5 separate regions of the Homo sapiens genome follow, and all the other regions are linked to region 5. Evidence: promoter capture Hi-C in 16 types of primary human blood cells and fetal thymus (Javierre and others, 2016). All regions are on one chromosome and are shown on one strand. The core of a region is centred on a gene start or on the middle of the fragment in contact, and the rest is flanking DNA. Distances in the headings are between cores, read along the strand shown.

Region 1 (2,766 bases), core at 3-2,502, 740 kb before region 5:
ATTAACTAAAAGCCTCAAAATTGTGTGCTTAGTTTATTAACAAAAGAGTTACAGAAACTAAAATCTCAAGCTCTAGGCTTTAAGCTTTCTTGCCAATAACTTCTATGTTTTTGACTTCTCTAACACTGGAAATTAAAAGAAAATTATTAATCTACCTTCCTTACATTTTCTCCACATTTTAGCTATGATTTTCATACAGGGTCATGAAGAGGAGTGAGGATGGAAATGGGGAGGAGGGAGCGCTGTTTGTTAATGGTTTGTAAACAGCTCAGGCATTAAATTACTTGGTTAGTGAAGAAAATTCTACCAAGGCAACCAGGCTGACCACAGACTGGAGGGCTGAGGGGTCATCACTGAGTCATCTCTGCCCTGGGGCCCCAGGCACTGGAGCTGCTGCTTGCAGAAAGTTCTGGGGCTCTGGAAGAGAAATTTTTCCTTCGGCTCATAAATGGGTAAAAAGACGTTAACAAACAAGCAGACTCCACTTTGGAAATGATAGCCCTTCTATTGCAGAGTAATTTGAAGCTCTCTGAAGCTCACTCTAATGACTTCATAAATCAAAGCTGCAGCTTGTAAAGGTAAGATATTTTTCTGTAGACTTTGTAGGCAGTGGTGAGACTCGGAGTTTCATAAACATTATGCATAGAGATGCCAGTGTCTACATCATTCCTGGATCCCACAGACTCCTGCTGTGCTAAGTGGGTCGTTGTCCAGCTGGCCAAGGGCTCCTGGGATTAGAGGCGGGAAGTGGGATCTCAAGGCCGCACTGGCTTGTGATGTCACTTTGCAAGAACTGCTTTTTTTTCCACAGTCCATCCCATCTTTCAGTACTTAAAAACAGAAAAGATAGGTTTTTACAAACCATTTCTATTTTTAGCACTGATGACTTAGAGAATGGTGATGGAGATAGCTTAGTTTTATATTTCAAAGCCTGCCATTCAGTCACTATAGTCTTTTTTGGCCTAGGGCCCATTTCATTATAAGCCTTTAAGTCTGGATAAACTCTAAAAACATGTAGAACTTTGTTGACTAAGTAAAATATTTCAGTTTGCACCACCTTAGCTCATATATTAGTTAATAGGTTACCTGGCATTAAGTATGTATCTGCTCCTTGGAGGGGCGGCTGCCAGTGATGTGTGCGCCTTAACCTTCACATGATACTCACACCTTGCTGAATGGCAGTTCTTCTACCTGGTGTCACATAATGTCAATAGCCCCTTCCTGTATTTTTCTAGCTTGAGTACAGCAGGGCCCTGGGAGAGACGCTTGCTCTGTTCACTTTCTCATCACATCTACCTTTGGGGGAAGAAAAATCTAAAAAACAGGACCTGGCTTGCTCCTGATGGAGGAGGAGGCTGCAGTGTTCAGCCTCTGATGTTTTTCTATAGGACATGCTGCCAAATAGATGAGGGAGGAGGAGGAGTATAAAAACTAAGGGTTTGGCAAAAAACACAGAAGCCACCTGCAATATAGTGAAGGCTTCAGAGAGACTTTAGGATGAAAATAGACTGAAAACAAGATTGTTTCTGTGGCCAGGAAAATCTCCAGCTATTCAGGTGACATGATGCCGCGTGATGATGAGTGTGTCCAGTCTGTCTGTGCTGTTGTTCTGCACAGCACTGTCATCAGCCTTCAGCGTCCCCTTTACCCGTTACTCATAGAATGTAGCGGAGCCACGACTGGAGGACCGCAGCCTTCCAGAAGAAAGTTGAGAAGGCTCAGCCTTGACAAAGACAAAGGTGGCTGGAAAAAGAGATGCAGTGCAAGCTCACATAGGAAGATTGCACTTTGAGATCATGAAGTTTAGTTTCAAATAGAGTTCCAATACACAGTAACGCAATAAGAGGGTTGCTGAAATGTCCTCAAAGAAAAGCAGTTCCTTTGTGTTGTTCCCAGCGAATACAGTGCAAAGTAATAGAGTCAGCTGAATTTAAGATTCCTATTTCCTGCCGGATAAAACGTCTTGCCTGTTTCTAGGTGGCTTGAAAAAGGAGAGGAGAGAAGGAAGAGGCAGGAGAAAAGTCCCACTGAAAGGACGTGGGCTACAGTGTAGTGAGCTAGGCTACTGCCTCACTGCGCTGGGCGGCTCCAACAGTTCACTGTCTCCTAGGGAGGTTTTCAAATGCAGGACATTTGCTCACTTTTCCAAGGAGAGTTATTGTTTTTTTGTTTTGTTTTGTTTTGTTTTGTTTTAAAAAATTCCAGAATGTAAATGTATAAGATACCGGAAGACAGGCAAAATAAAAATAATTGGTTTGGGGCAGTGGGTTTATAGGTAACATTTTTCTTTACTATTGTTTTAAAATTAGATGTGATTTAAAAAAATTTCCAAAGCCAAAAAACGGTACAAATGCTTTAAAGGATGAAGATGTTGTCCCCAAGTGTCATCAGACAAATTTAGGAGGCCCTTCCTCCCAAGCAAAGCTTCCTGCAGTCCTTCCTTCAACTCTGAATTCAAGCACATTCCTGCATTGTGCACCCAAATGATCTCCCGATTTAAGACCCCCTGTGTCTCACAGAAGCTTCTGGGGCTGAACTTTCTCCGGCCTTGGAGGGTTGGACGCTTTGAATGGGAGGAGTGGTGGTGAGTGGAGCATCTCTGGCAGCAGGCATTTGGGAGTCTCTGGCAGGAATCAATCAGCGTAGTCTCCAAAGGTGGCCTTTCTCTGACACTAACTAGCCCTTGCAGGGGTCATACCCATAACCTGCATCTCATTAACATCATCTCCTTACCAGTGCACTGACCTAGTGAGAAAAGGAACAATA
Region 2 (2,700 bases), core at 35-2,534, 770 kb before region 5:
AACAATGATGCAATGTCATCCTCTTCCCCACACATTTGTGTGCAGATAGAAAGAATGCAACAGCACAGAGTTGTTGGGGAATAATTTGGCATCTAAAATATCGACATACCAGCATAGATCATATTTATGACTCTGTTGGGAGTGTCACAGCAATGATTTAATAGGAGGCAGTTGTCTCCAAGGCCTCCTGAATTATGACTGGTTTTAAAATTCTTAGAACCCATTGGAGGCTATTGTTTCTGAAAGGCTACATAATTTAAGTGCTCCACATCCGTCATTATAGGAGATGTCAGAATAGTAAAATCTAATCCTGGACTAAGTTGTTATCGCAGCCCTTTGGTTTGGTGGCTTTGCCGACTTTATAAATATGCCTGTCAGTGCCTGTGGTCTCTACAGTTGGGCAGTCGGCGGTGAATATCATTTCTCACATTTTACACTGGGGGACTGGAACCCAGAAGGCATATGTTTTCCCAAGAGGCACCAACACAGTTGGCCCATGAGGTAGAGCAGCCCCTCCTTCGGCTCAGCCTCCGCTGCACTGAGCCAAGCCAAGCTTCCTACACTGGCCTCTGTGCAGCTGTCTCTCAGCAAGAATGCAAGTCGGGGAGAGAAGCCGGATCCCTGGGATTGTTCTAGAGAGTAGAAACCTCAGAGTAGCCCTCCTTAGACCACCTAACGCATTGCATCGCTGCATACATGTAAGGGACTCAATGCTGGTAGGATTGGCTTAGGAATGATGCAAGTGAAAACAGTGCCCCGGTTTATCATTAGAACAAGGTTCTTAGCTGACAGTTGCCTCAGACTTTGATTTTGTTCTCCTTGACCTGCCACTCCACTCGAGTCCACATCTCTCAAGACTGCACACGCCTGAAGGAGGACTGATTACAAACCAAAGCCTTGTGCCCAGTCTGGATCTTTTTGCATTGTTGAGAAAGCAGCTTACTTTCTTTGGACTGATTCAGCAGGCCAAATTTAGAACAAAGATTTTTAACTATCTCCCTTTATAAATTACTGAGCTATTTTGTAGCCAGGCTACTCTTAATATGAACAAAAAATATTATACAAATTTGTTGTTAATCGTAAACTATAAAAAAATCAGTAATTGTTACCACGTGAAATGAATTTGGATAAAAGAGATACGTTTTTGCCCCTTCCCAGGGTTTAGGAGAGACGAAATGGTGAGATTTTAGCTCTGAATCAGAGGTTCTTATTAGAGGTGGTTTTGTTCCTCCTGACCCCTAGGGGATATTTAGCAATGCCTAGAGGCATTGATGGTGGGCAGATGCTACTATGCCCTCTGCTAAACATTCTACAGTGTATAAAACTGTTCCTCCTGACAAAGAATCATCCAGCCCCAAAATGTCAGTAGTGCTGAGGTTGAGAAACCCTCCTTTAAACTCTTGGGTTTATTTGCTGACCTTTACAGTGGATCAGCTTTTATTTAGTTCATGTAGAGGTGAAATTAATACTAGTGCTCAAATATGTCTTTGTATTCTGGACTTGGCCTGGATCCCCCGACCAAATTTGGGACAAGCTCCTGCCATGTGTTGAGGACCTGAATTCAGGCAGCTAACAACAGTATTTGAACTGTGTTTTCAGTGGTGGGAGTGAAGGAGATGAGCCGACGTGCTAGCAAGCGCATAGGGTTGCATGAGGAAATAGAGAGTAAAGCTGCAGCGTGGAGCCCTGCTATTCAGAGTGTGCTTGGAGAAACAGCAGTGGAGGCATTACTGGGGAGCTTGATGGAAATGCTCCCCTCAGACTTGCTGAATCAAAATCTTTAATTTAGCAAGATCCCCAGTGAGGCTTGTGCATGTAGAAGTTAGAGAAGCACGGGGTAAACTCTTCTTTTTTTTACTTTGGAGGAAAATACACCTTTTTTCTTATTATGGCTCTGACCCTTACTAGCTGTGTGACCTTGGCCAAGTTATAAAACCTCACTGCACCTTATTTGTTTTAGCTGGAAAATGGAGATCATAATATCACCTGTCCTATGAGATTGTTGTAAGAATCAAACAAGCTTATTTATGCCAAGAACCCATATGGTAAAAGCTCAACAAACTGTCACTAGTGATAATAAGAAAAAGATCACAAAAGTAGAAAACATTAGGGAGACAGCTTAGGTCTTAAATCTCACAGTTGTCGTCCCCAAACAATACTTGTATTTTTGCAGATCCAGTTTCTCTGAATACTAAAATAAAACCGGAGTTTCATAAACTTCTATAGACAGTGGTCCTTGTCAGTAGCCCAAGTGGCAGAGAGTACATGGATCTGGGGACAAACAGCCTCTACTGTTAGGAATGTTCCATCCTCCTGGCCTGAGTTACACCTGCTCATTGTGATTCCGAATTTGAAAGGAACACAGTAGGAATTTTCAAGACCCTGGGAAGAGGAAGGCTGTGGTAAACAGGAAGGATGAGATTAGAAGAAGGAGTTTAGGTGAGGTGAGCCCTTGTTTTACTAGTAGGGTTTAAGAATATCCAAGTCAGCTGGACATGGTGGCTCACACCTGTAATTCTAGCACTTTGGGAGGCCGAGGTGGGCAGATCACCTGAGGTCAGGAGTTCGAGACCAGTCTGGCCAACATGGTGAAACCCCGTCTCAACTGAAAATACAGAAATTAGCAGGGCATGGTGGCGCATGCCTGTAATTCCAACTACTCACTCGGGAGTCTGAGGCAGGAGAATCGCTTGAACTTGG
Region 3 (2,700 bases), core at 199-2,698, 710 kb before region 5:
AGTGTTCTGGGTGACTTATTAGAAAGTGGAAGAGTCTCTTCCAAATGACAAATGATTCTATCCTAGCTTTGAGTCTTGTGCCAAGACCTTAAAAAAAACACACACCCACTGCTGTGGTCTGAATGTTGATGTTGCCCCATCCCCCCTCCATTCATGTGTTCAAATATAATATCCAATGTGATAGAATTAAGAGGCAAAGCATTTGGGAAATGATTAAGTCATGAGGGCTCTACGCTCATGAATGGGATCAGTGCACTTAGAAGCTGGAGATGTGAAGACACAGCAAGAAGGCGCCGTCCGTCTATGAGGAACAGTCCCTCACCAGACGCCACATCTGCTGGTGCCTTGATTTTGGACTTCCCAGCTTCTAGAACTGTTGTTTATAAATTATCCAGTCTGAGTAGCCCAAACAAACTAACCCACTTAGCACCCACTTAACACCATGTCTCTTTCAGATGGCAAGAAAACACCAATATTTTTAGAGATAAATGTTCCATTACTGTGTAGTCCAATAAGTATAAATAAGTTCTTGGCTTGATCCACTTACAGTTTTAATGGACACAAGGGAATCTGCTATTCTTAACTTAGCATTAAACTGCGAGGAGGAATGAGTTGGTGAAATGGACATTGTAGTGGGCACCTGGCAGGGGGTGACCTTGTTATCTCAGTTTATGATGATGTCCCCTACAGATCTGACAGCCAGTGGACACAGCCCTATCAACTTCCTGCTGTGATCATCTGCAAAGGGAACCTAGGCATCGGGAAGACATTCGTTAAAGTTCAGGAAAAAATTAGGTGTGATTTCATGGCATGACAGCCTAAAAGAGACTTTTGTGAAATTCTACAAAAGTAAATCCTGACTGTTCAAATTGCATTCCAGGGTACTGAGAAAATTTGAGCAAAAAAAAATTGCTCAACTGCTATTAGTATTTTTTTGGAATGAGTTGACAATGGTGGAAAGAGGCACTGGAAATGGGAAGACAGAGATCTTTGAAGAAATATAGAGCTAGCCAAACTTCCCACTTTATTTAATGAGGTAGGAAGTGGATGATGTAAGTTATGGTTCGTTGAGCCCAGTGAAAAGCTTGTCTGCATGGATCATGAGGATATTCTTGCAGTCCTCCCTTTAATTCTCAGTGCCTTCTCTAAGAAAGCCCCAGAACTGTTCAGGTATTTCTCCCAAATAATGTTTGTTTTTAATCCGATGTCAACTGTGTAATTGAACAGGTGACCCTATTTTAATTTGACATTTCCGGAACACTCAAAACCAAATTGGTGGCCCTCCCATTAGCAAATGTGCAGGCATTTGGTTCTGACTCATTTTGACCCTCTCCGATTCTACTTTATTCCAGTTATTTCATGCTTTCTTAAATCTTTAATATCCTTGTAAATCACTGTAAAACATTTGAGGAACAAGATGGAGCCAGGTAAATATAAATAGAAGCGACATCTCATGGCTAAAAGCGCAGGCCCTGGAGTCAGCTGGAATCCGACCCTGATTTCTTGTCTGTATAATGGAAATAACAGCTATTTCATAGGATTATTGTGCAAATATTTATGACAAGCACTGAGTACTGTGGTGGACACCAAATTAACAAGCAATAAATGTTATCATTACTTATGATGACGTGAACTAAATCAGTTATGTGAGCTTGAGATTGGACCCAGGCAAAATTCCTCAACAGTGCAAACATATAAGATAGGTGATTCCTTAAGATCATGTCATGCTAGCCCAATGTAATTTTATGTTTCTGAAAGCACAGTGACCAAATGGAAGATGGGAAGCTGTAGGAAAATATACCTTGATGTCAGCAAAGCTTTTGACATCTCTCACAATACCTTAAATAAAGTCTTATTAAAACTTAAATGAGTTAAAGTGACATGAGCAGTAGGAGAGTTCGATTGTGTTGATTTAATAAAACCAGAAAGACTTCTAGGTTGTGGTTCTCAGCCCTGGTTGCACAATAGAATCACCCAGAGAGATTTTTCAAAGTACCAGGGCCCAAGGGTGCTCCAGGCTAACACACTCATGCACTCTGGGGTAGGGCCTGGGCGGTTTTTAGTTTTTAAGCTCCCCAGTGAATTTAAAGTTTAGCTAGGATTGAAAAATGCTGTGATGGATAATGGATTGTGGTGAGCCTAAAAAGGAGGAGTCTCACTGAGGGTTTTTCCTTAGCCAGCCGGTGCACATGTGTGTCATGTGATCTGTATGAGGCCCTAGGGACCATGCTCTTGGATGCACGGATGCCACTGACTAAATGCAATGAATGACAGACAGGACCTTGATTGATGTTGACAAGCTGGCCAGATGACCTGATTCAAGCAAGATGCACTTTTGAATGTCAGGTTCTAAATGTGTGTATAGGGCAGTGGGTCTCAGGGTATAGGCCCTAGACCAATAGCCTCAGCATCTTCTGAAACTTGTTAGAATTGTATTAATGGGATCTACCAACCTACTAATTCAAAAATTCTGGAGGGTGGGGTCAGCAATCTTTTTTCACAAGCCTTCCATGGGATTCTGATGTGTGCTAAAGTTTAAGAACCACTCACATAGAAGGGGGAATCCCACTGGACAAGTACAGAATCAGAGACATCTCATTAGCAACAGCAGTGACTGAAGACAGAGTCTGTTTATTCTTGATCTATAGTTCTGTTTTATTCTCGCTTTCCCATTGCGATGAAGACCTCATACTTGGCAGA
Region 4 (2,700 bases), core at 99-2,598, 690 kb before region 5:
TACTGCCTTCTAGCAACACTGCTAGAAATAGGGCGAGTGAGTTATTTACCGTCAGGCCTGAGAGATGCTGTGTGGTTTTCTCCTGGCTGTTCCCAATGCTTCTCTTCCCTGGTAATATGAACAATGGCTGTGAGTCTGGTACTGTGCTAAATGCTTTCCATGAAATAATTTACTCAATCCTTACCTTTTGAGTAGATAGTTGTATTATCTCCACTTTACAATGAACAAACTGAGGCACAGAAAGTGTAAGCAACCCACCTAAGTAAGTGTGAGGGCTGGGATGTGGACACGGGAAGGCTGGTCCCATAACTGACTTTCCCGGTCACCATGCTCTGTTCTTCTTGTCTTGCTTCTTCTGCTCCCTTCCTCTCTTGCAGATCCCTTCAACTCCCCTCCATCATGAATAGGCCAATAGGGGCACCCAATGGCTATAAATAAAAAGAGGTTCCTGCCTCTCTCTGTCAATTGTTCCACATTTATGTCTATTTGGTGTCTTCATGGGATATTAAGGACTCTGGCATTTGATGAATGTCCTTCGGTACCAATCAGTCCAGCATCTCTTTGGGCACACTGGGCACACTGGAGAGAGCCCTGGACTGGGAGCCAGTAGTCTAGTTTCCAGATCTGGCTCTGCCACAGGTGTGCATGTGTCCTTGACCATGGTACTCCCATCTGTCAGTGCAGGGATGGATGATGACCTCTAGGATTCCTCATAGCCCTAAAGTCTGTGATATAATTCTTTCCTTCCTCAGCCTGGTATCTGTCCTTTGGCACTGCTGGCCTGCCTTTCCCCAGGAAGCCCATGGGCAGGAATCAGCTCCCTCTTTAGAGCCTGAGAGGAGCATTATGTGGTCTTGCCGATTTTGACAGGCAAAAGGAGAAGGTGAGGAAAGTCAGGCTCTCTGGTCTCCTAGTTGGTGCTGCCATCCGCAGGCTTAAATGTCTCCCTGAAATGCAGATGGAAATGAAGCAAGGTGAAAGGGTAAGCGTAGGAGCAGAGCAACTTCTAGGCTTAAAGAGGAACTTGAACCCAACTGACTCACGAGGGAAGTGGTTGTTGACCTCGAATCCTAGTTGACTTGCAAGTTGGTAGCTTGTCTTTTGAGAGACTTAGATGAATTTAGTTCCCGTGCCCATGAACTTCTGTCATTCATGGCAAAAAGAGGTAGCCTCCAAAAGAGCGATTGAACAAGAAGAATTTGGGGATGCATGAATGAATAAATGAAGGATATGGCAATTCTTTTTCTGTGAATGCCTTGGGCAATCAGACAGAAAAGATACTTAGCTCTCCAGGATGGCTTAGATGGATCTCCTCAACGCCACTCCCTGTTGAACTGATTGCGCCTGAAACACGCCAGAGTACAGGGGTCTTTGGGAAGCCTTTAATCCTGGCTGTCTGCTAAACTCAAACTTTCCCTCCTTCCTGATTTTACCATAGTCTTCCTTCTATAAATTACTTGCACATGGTAGATACAGTTTCAGTTCTGGGCTAACAAAATGGCAGCCAGAAACCATTCAGTCATAAGATGAGCAGTGACAGAAAAAAACAGGGAAGAGATAAAACCTTAAGCTGTAAGCAGGGTGGGCCTCTGCCAAATAAAGATGTTTATTGCTCTTCTGCTTTCTCAACAAAATTATAAGATTGAACGCCTTGATTTATGTGGCTCAGCAGATGTTCTCAAATCTATTAGCTCCTTGCCTCCTCCGTTGAGTGGGTGGTGCAAAAATAAAATCTGCAAGGAAGAAGCTGGCAGTGACAGGAAAGGAAGTGAGGGGCCTCTGAGAGATTAGGAGCTGAGACATGACCCAGAAATAAAAGAAAAGGAGAATCTGAAGGAACAAGTCTTCACGGTTCCTGTTCAATGAACTTTTCTCTAACAAGAGACAAAATTTGCACAGCCACAAATTATTGCAATTCAGAGAGCCAAGTGTATTGAGTTGAAAACATATTTTATGTAGGGAGGTGTCTTACATTGAGGTTGTCATAACAAAATCTCATAGACTGGGTAGCTCACGGACAACAGAAATTTATTTCTTACACTTCTGGAGGCTGGGGAGTCCAAGATCAAGGCTGGCAGATTTGAGGTCTGGCTTCTTGGTTCATAGATGGCCTCTTCTTTCTGTGTCCTCACGTGATAGAAAGGGTGAGGACCTCTCTGGGATCTCTTTCATAAGAACACTAACCCCATTCATGAGGACTCTACTGTCATGATCTAATCACCACCCAAAAGCCCCACCTCCTAAGACCATCACCTTGGGGGTTAGGATTCCAACACATGAATCTGGGGGGAACACAGGCACTTAAACCGTAGCAAGAGGCATTAACAGTATTGATGGCCCAAATCTCTCACCCAAAGAAAGTTGTCCAATACATTTGAGAAAATTTTAATGACATGGGTCCCTCGATGCCACCACCTTCTCTCATTTTTCTCTTTCCCCTTCCATATTGGCCGCATGTCTATCACCCCTTCAATTCAGGCTGGCCATCCAGAACCTTCCCCACTAGATAATATCTCTACCTCAAATTAAAAACAGTCTCCTTCCTACTTGTTCAGAGCCCTGGTGTCAGGATGGTTGCGGAAGATTGTTAAACTGGCAGCACGACGTGGAGATTTCCTGGGGATTTCAATCACCCAGTTCCCCCTACCCTTCCTGACAGAGGTTAATCACGAGGGGAATGAAAACAACACACAATCTTAT
Region 5 (2,700 bases), core at 21-2,520:
AGAACTTTCAGATAATAGTAGATAACTGGCATTCACAGATGAGGACCTACCCTACAGGTCCCCGGCAACCAGACCCACGGTGTCTGGGTTCATGGGACTGAAAATCAGTCACCAGGTGGAAAAGCTGGTCAGCTGTCCTTATGGTATCCTGCCACAAAAACGCAATATTCCTCCAGAGGCGTTCATACCCTGAGGCAGTTCCTAGGGAATACACTAAATGAACAAGATAGTAACTTTTCTATTTATTGGGAAAAAAGGAGGGAAAAATGGGAAGATGAGAGTGGAAGATTAGAGAGTTCACAGTTTTTTAAAGAAAGTAAAAATAAACAGGTAAATGCTCTTGATTTTTTAAATGCATCAAATAAAAAGGGTGAGGAAATAGATGAAATAAGCTACATTTCAGAAAAAAAGGGTAGACAAGACCTATGAAAATTAAAACTACAAGGAAGAAGAGAGCAGAAAAAAAATTAAGTGAAATAAGTGGAGGAAAGATCACATAATCAAGTTAACAAATAGGCAAGAAAAACATTGTTTCATTTGTCAAACTGAAGGTGGAAGGACCTGGAGGAAGGCAATTGCTACACTGTGCCAGATTCAAGCTTGTGAAGGGGCTTGGTCCCGGCCACTTCCTCCATTTAATAAATGTTTATTCAGAGTCTATTTTTCTGCCAGTGCCATGCTACGCACTAGGCACCAGGGATATAAATATGAATAGGACTGACATAATTCCTGCTTTCAAAAAGCTTATGAATTAGGGACAGACACAGACCAGCAAACTGTTACAGTGACAAACGACAAGGGAGATCAAACACACGTCTGCTGTAAAAACATATAATAAATAGGTGCCATATCAGTGGTATATAAAAATTACTGTTAAATGTTACTGAAAACAATAAACTAGAGAAAGACGAAAAGAGAAAATTCGCTGGGCCAAATCAGAAGAAATAAATAACATTAGTTTTGTTCCTTAATTATCACCACAAGCGCTAGTTGTTTTCTATCTTTTCAAGACAGCTGTAAAGACGCTGCTCTTCATCCTGCTCGTGAAATTCAAAGGACATTTGCAACATCTACAAAAAAAACCACTTCAAATCATTTTGCAAAAATTTCAAGGAAACATTACCTATTTCCTATATAATGAATGGTTAGCAAACTTGCTTACTTGAAGCACCTGTGCCATAATGTGAAAAAGCCACAGAAGTCTTTCTACTTACCAAGATCTCTTTTTCAGAAGAAGAGAAAATAACTTGTAAATGAACGGAAATACAATTGAAAATGCTTGACAAACACAAGTTCTTAAAGTTGAGTAAAGCGGTACCTTAGAAACAGATTGGTGCCATCTGTTGGCCCACACTGGAATTACTCCTACGTATATTTTTACCTTTCAAAGGTCCGGAGGTGAGTTAGCAGTTTTTTCTGGGCTACAGACAAAACCAGTAATCCAATTTTCTAATTCGTGTGAGGAAGCAACTTACAAACAATTCAATGTGAAGAAAAATATTTTTCTAAGGTAATATTTCTCTGTAAGAGTTTGCAGCCTGGTTATTACATTTGTCACCTGAGTGGAAAGTTATTTTAAACAGCCTGTTTTCTATTATCACCATATTTAACATTTCAAGAATAATTGCAGTTTCCCTTATCAAGCAATTTTGAGCATTATTTTAGCTGGATGAGATAGTTTAAAATAAAATAAGTATAGTTCCACAATTTGGGTTTTTTTTTAAAAATCAACTTCTAAGGAAAGTTTACTGGTTGATACATATTTATGACTACATATTTAGCCATATGTACGAGCAATCATACCCACATTCTGATCAACATTTGGTGTTATTAAATGGTTTAGATTTTAATTTAGGAATAATAAATAACACTGAAATCCTGCAAGACTAATTTAAAAATCAATTTTCTAAAGACCATTTAGAAGAATTTCAGAATGACATCAACAAAGGCTGATTACCAGAAGTCTCTGGTTAAACAGAGACTTCTGGTGGACAGTAAACCCTTTTCCCCAGACTTCTTGCTTAACTGAGTTCTGCAAAGGACAGAAGGCATGAGTGAAACAATCATTCTATAATTTATCTCACTGTCTGGCACAATCTCATCTTTATTAAAAAAAAAACAACAACAAGTTAAGACCTTACAATTTGGCTAATGACAAAGTTGGACATCTCCGTAAGAATCACTTCTGCTTTCAGGAGGAAGAGAAAGGCTGGCTTCTTGTGATTCATCCTTACTCATCAAACATAACAGGAAGTCTCCTCAGGCCTGGGGAGGCTCAGTAAGGAGTGGATGGATCTCTGCTCCACTGGCAAAAGGAGACAGCCAGAAAGCAGCAGGTATCTGTGACCCTGGAAAACCAGATTTGTGAAACAAGCCAAGGGAAAGGGCTGGCTGTGGCTCTGAGGGAATTTCAAGTAACCGTGGACTAAAGTCTTAAGAAAACAGACAACTATCACTGCAGATCTGGGCACATTGACATGTCTCATTAGGAGATTGCATCACAACACCAATGTTCAGAAACAAGGAGACTATTCTTGTCGAGGCTGTCATAACTCAGAAACGTCTGTAAGGGGATGACAAAAACACAAAAATCAAGTAATAGCGAAGATGGCAATGACAGTTAAGCAAACAAAGAAACAGACAGTACTGGGCCGAACCTCCACTTGGCCACTTACTGTGAGGCTTGGGACAAGTCCCTTA

Evidence for each region. The method cuts DNA at HindIII sites, captures the fragments that hold promoters and counts their contacts. A CHiCAGO score of 5 or more calls a contact.
Region 1: a fragment that was not itself captured here is called in contact with the fragment with the promoter of TLR6 in region 5 in 2 of 17 cell types (naive CD4 T cells and total CD4 T cells); the score reaches 6.1 in naive CD4 T cells.
Region 2: a contact is called between a fragment that was not itself captured here and the fragment with the promoter of TLR6 in region 5, in 1 of 17 cell types (endothelial precursors). The highest score is 6.6, in endothelial precursors.
Region 3: a fragment that was not itself captured here is called in contact with the fragment with the promoter of TLR6 in region 5 in 1 of 17 cell types (naive CD8 T cells); the score reaches 5.1 in naive CD8 T cells.
Region 4: a contact is called between a fragment that was not itself captured here and the fragment with the promoter of TLR6 in region 5, in 1 of 17 cell types (monocytes). The highest score is 6.0, in monocytes.

Annotation. Positions count from the first base shown.
Region 1 is chr4:38,119,531-38,122,296 of GRCh38, forward strand. All of the region lies in intron 19 of TBC1D1 (TBC1 domain family member 1), which reads left to right. Among named protein-coding and RNA genes, the nearest start is that of PTTG2, 160 kb to the left of the region's middle. The HindIII fragment of the contact is 2,340 bases long and covers 83-2,422 here.
Region 2 is chr4:38,085,073-38,087,772 of GRCh38, forward strand. All of the region lies in intron 14 of TBC1D1 (TBC1 domain family member 1), which reads left to right. Among named protein-coding and RNA genes, the nearest start is that of PTTG2, 130 kb to the left of the region's middle. The HindIII fragment of the contact is 1,467 bases long and covers 552-2,018 here.
Region 3 is chr4:38,143,249-38,145,948 of GRCh38, forward strand. No RefSeq gene overlaps it. Among named protein-coding and RNA genes, the nearest start is that of PTTG2, 180 kb to the left of the region's middle. The HindIII fragment of the contact is 733 bases long and covers 1,083-1,815 here.
Region 4 is chr4:38,165,300-38,167,999 of GRCh38, forward strand. No RefSeq gene overlaps it. Among named protein-coding and RNA genes, the nearest start is that of LINC02513, 200 kb to the right of the region's middle. The HindIII fragment of the contact is 5,693 bases long and covers 1-2,700 here.
Region 5 is chr4:38,855,547-38,858,246 of GRCh38, forward strand. TLR6 (toll like receptor 6) reads right to left here and starts at 1,271. Exons shown (of 2, transcript NM_006068.5): 1 at 1,215-1,271. RefSeq lists an enhancer at 1,720-2,700. The HindIII fragment of the contact is 10,488 bases long and covers 742-2,700 here.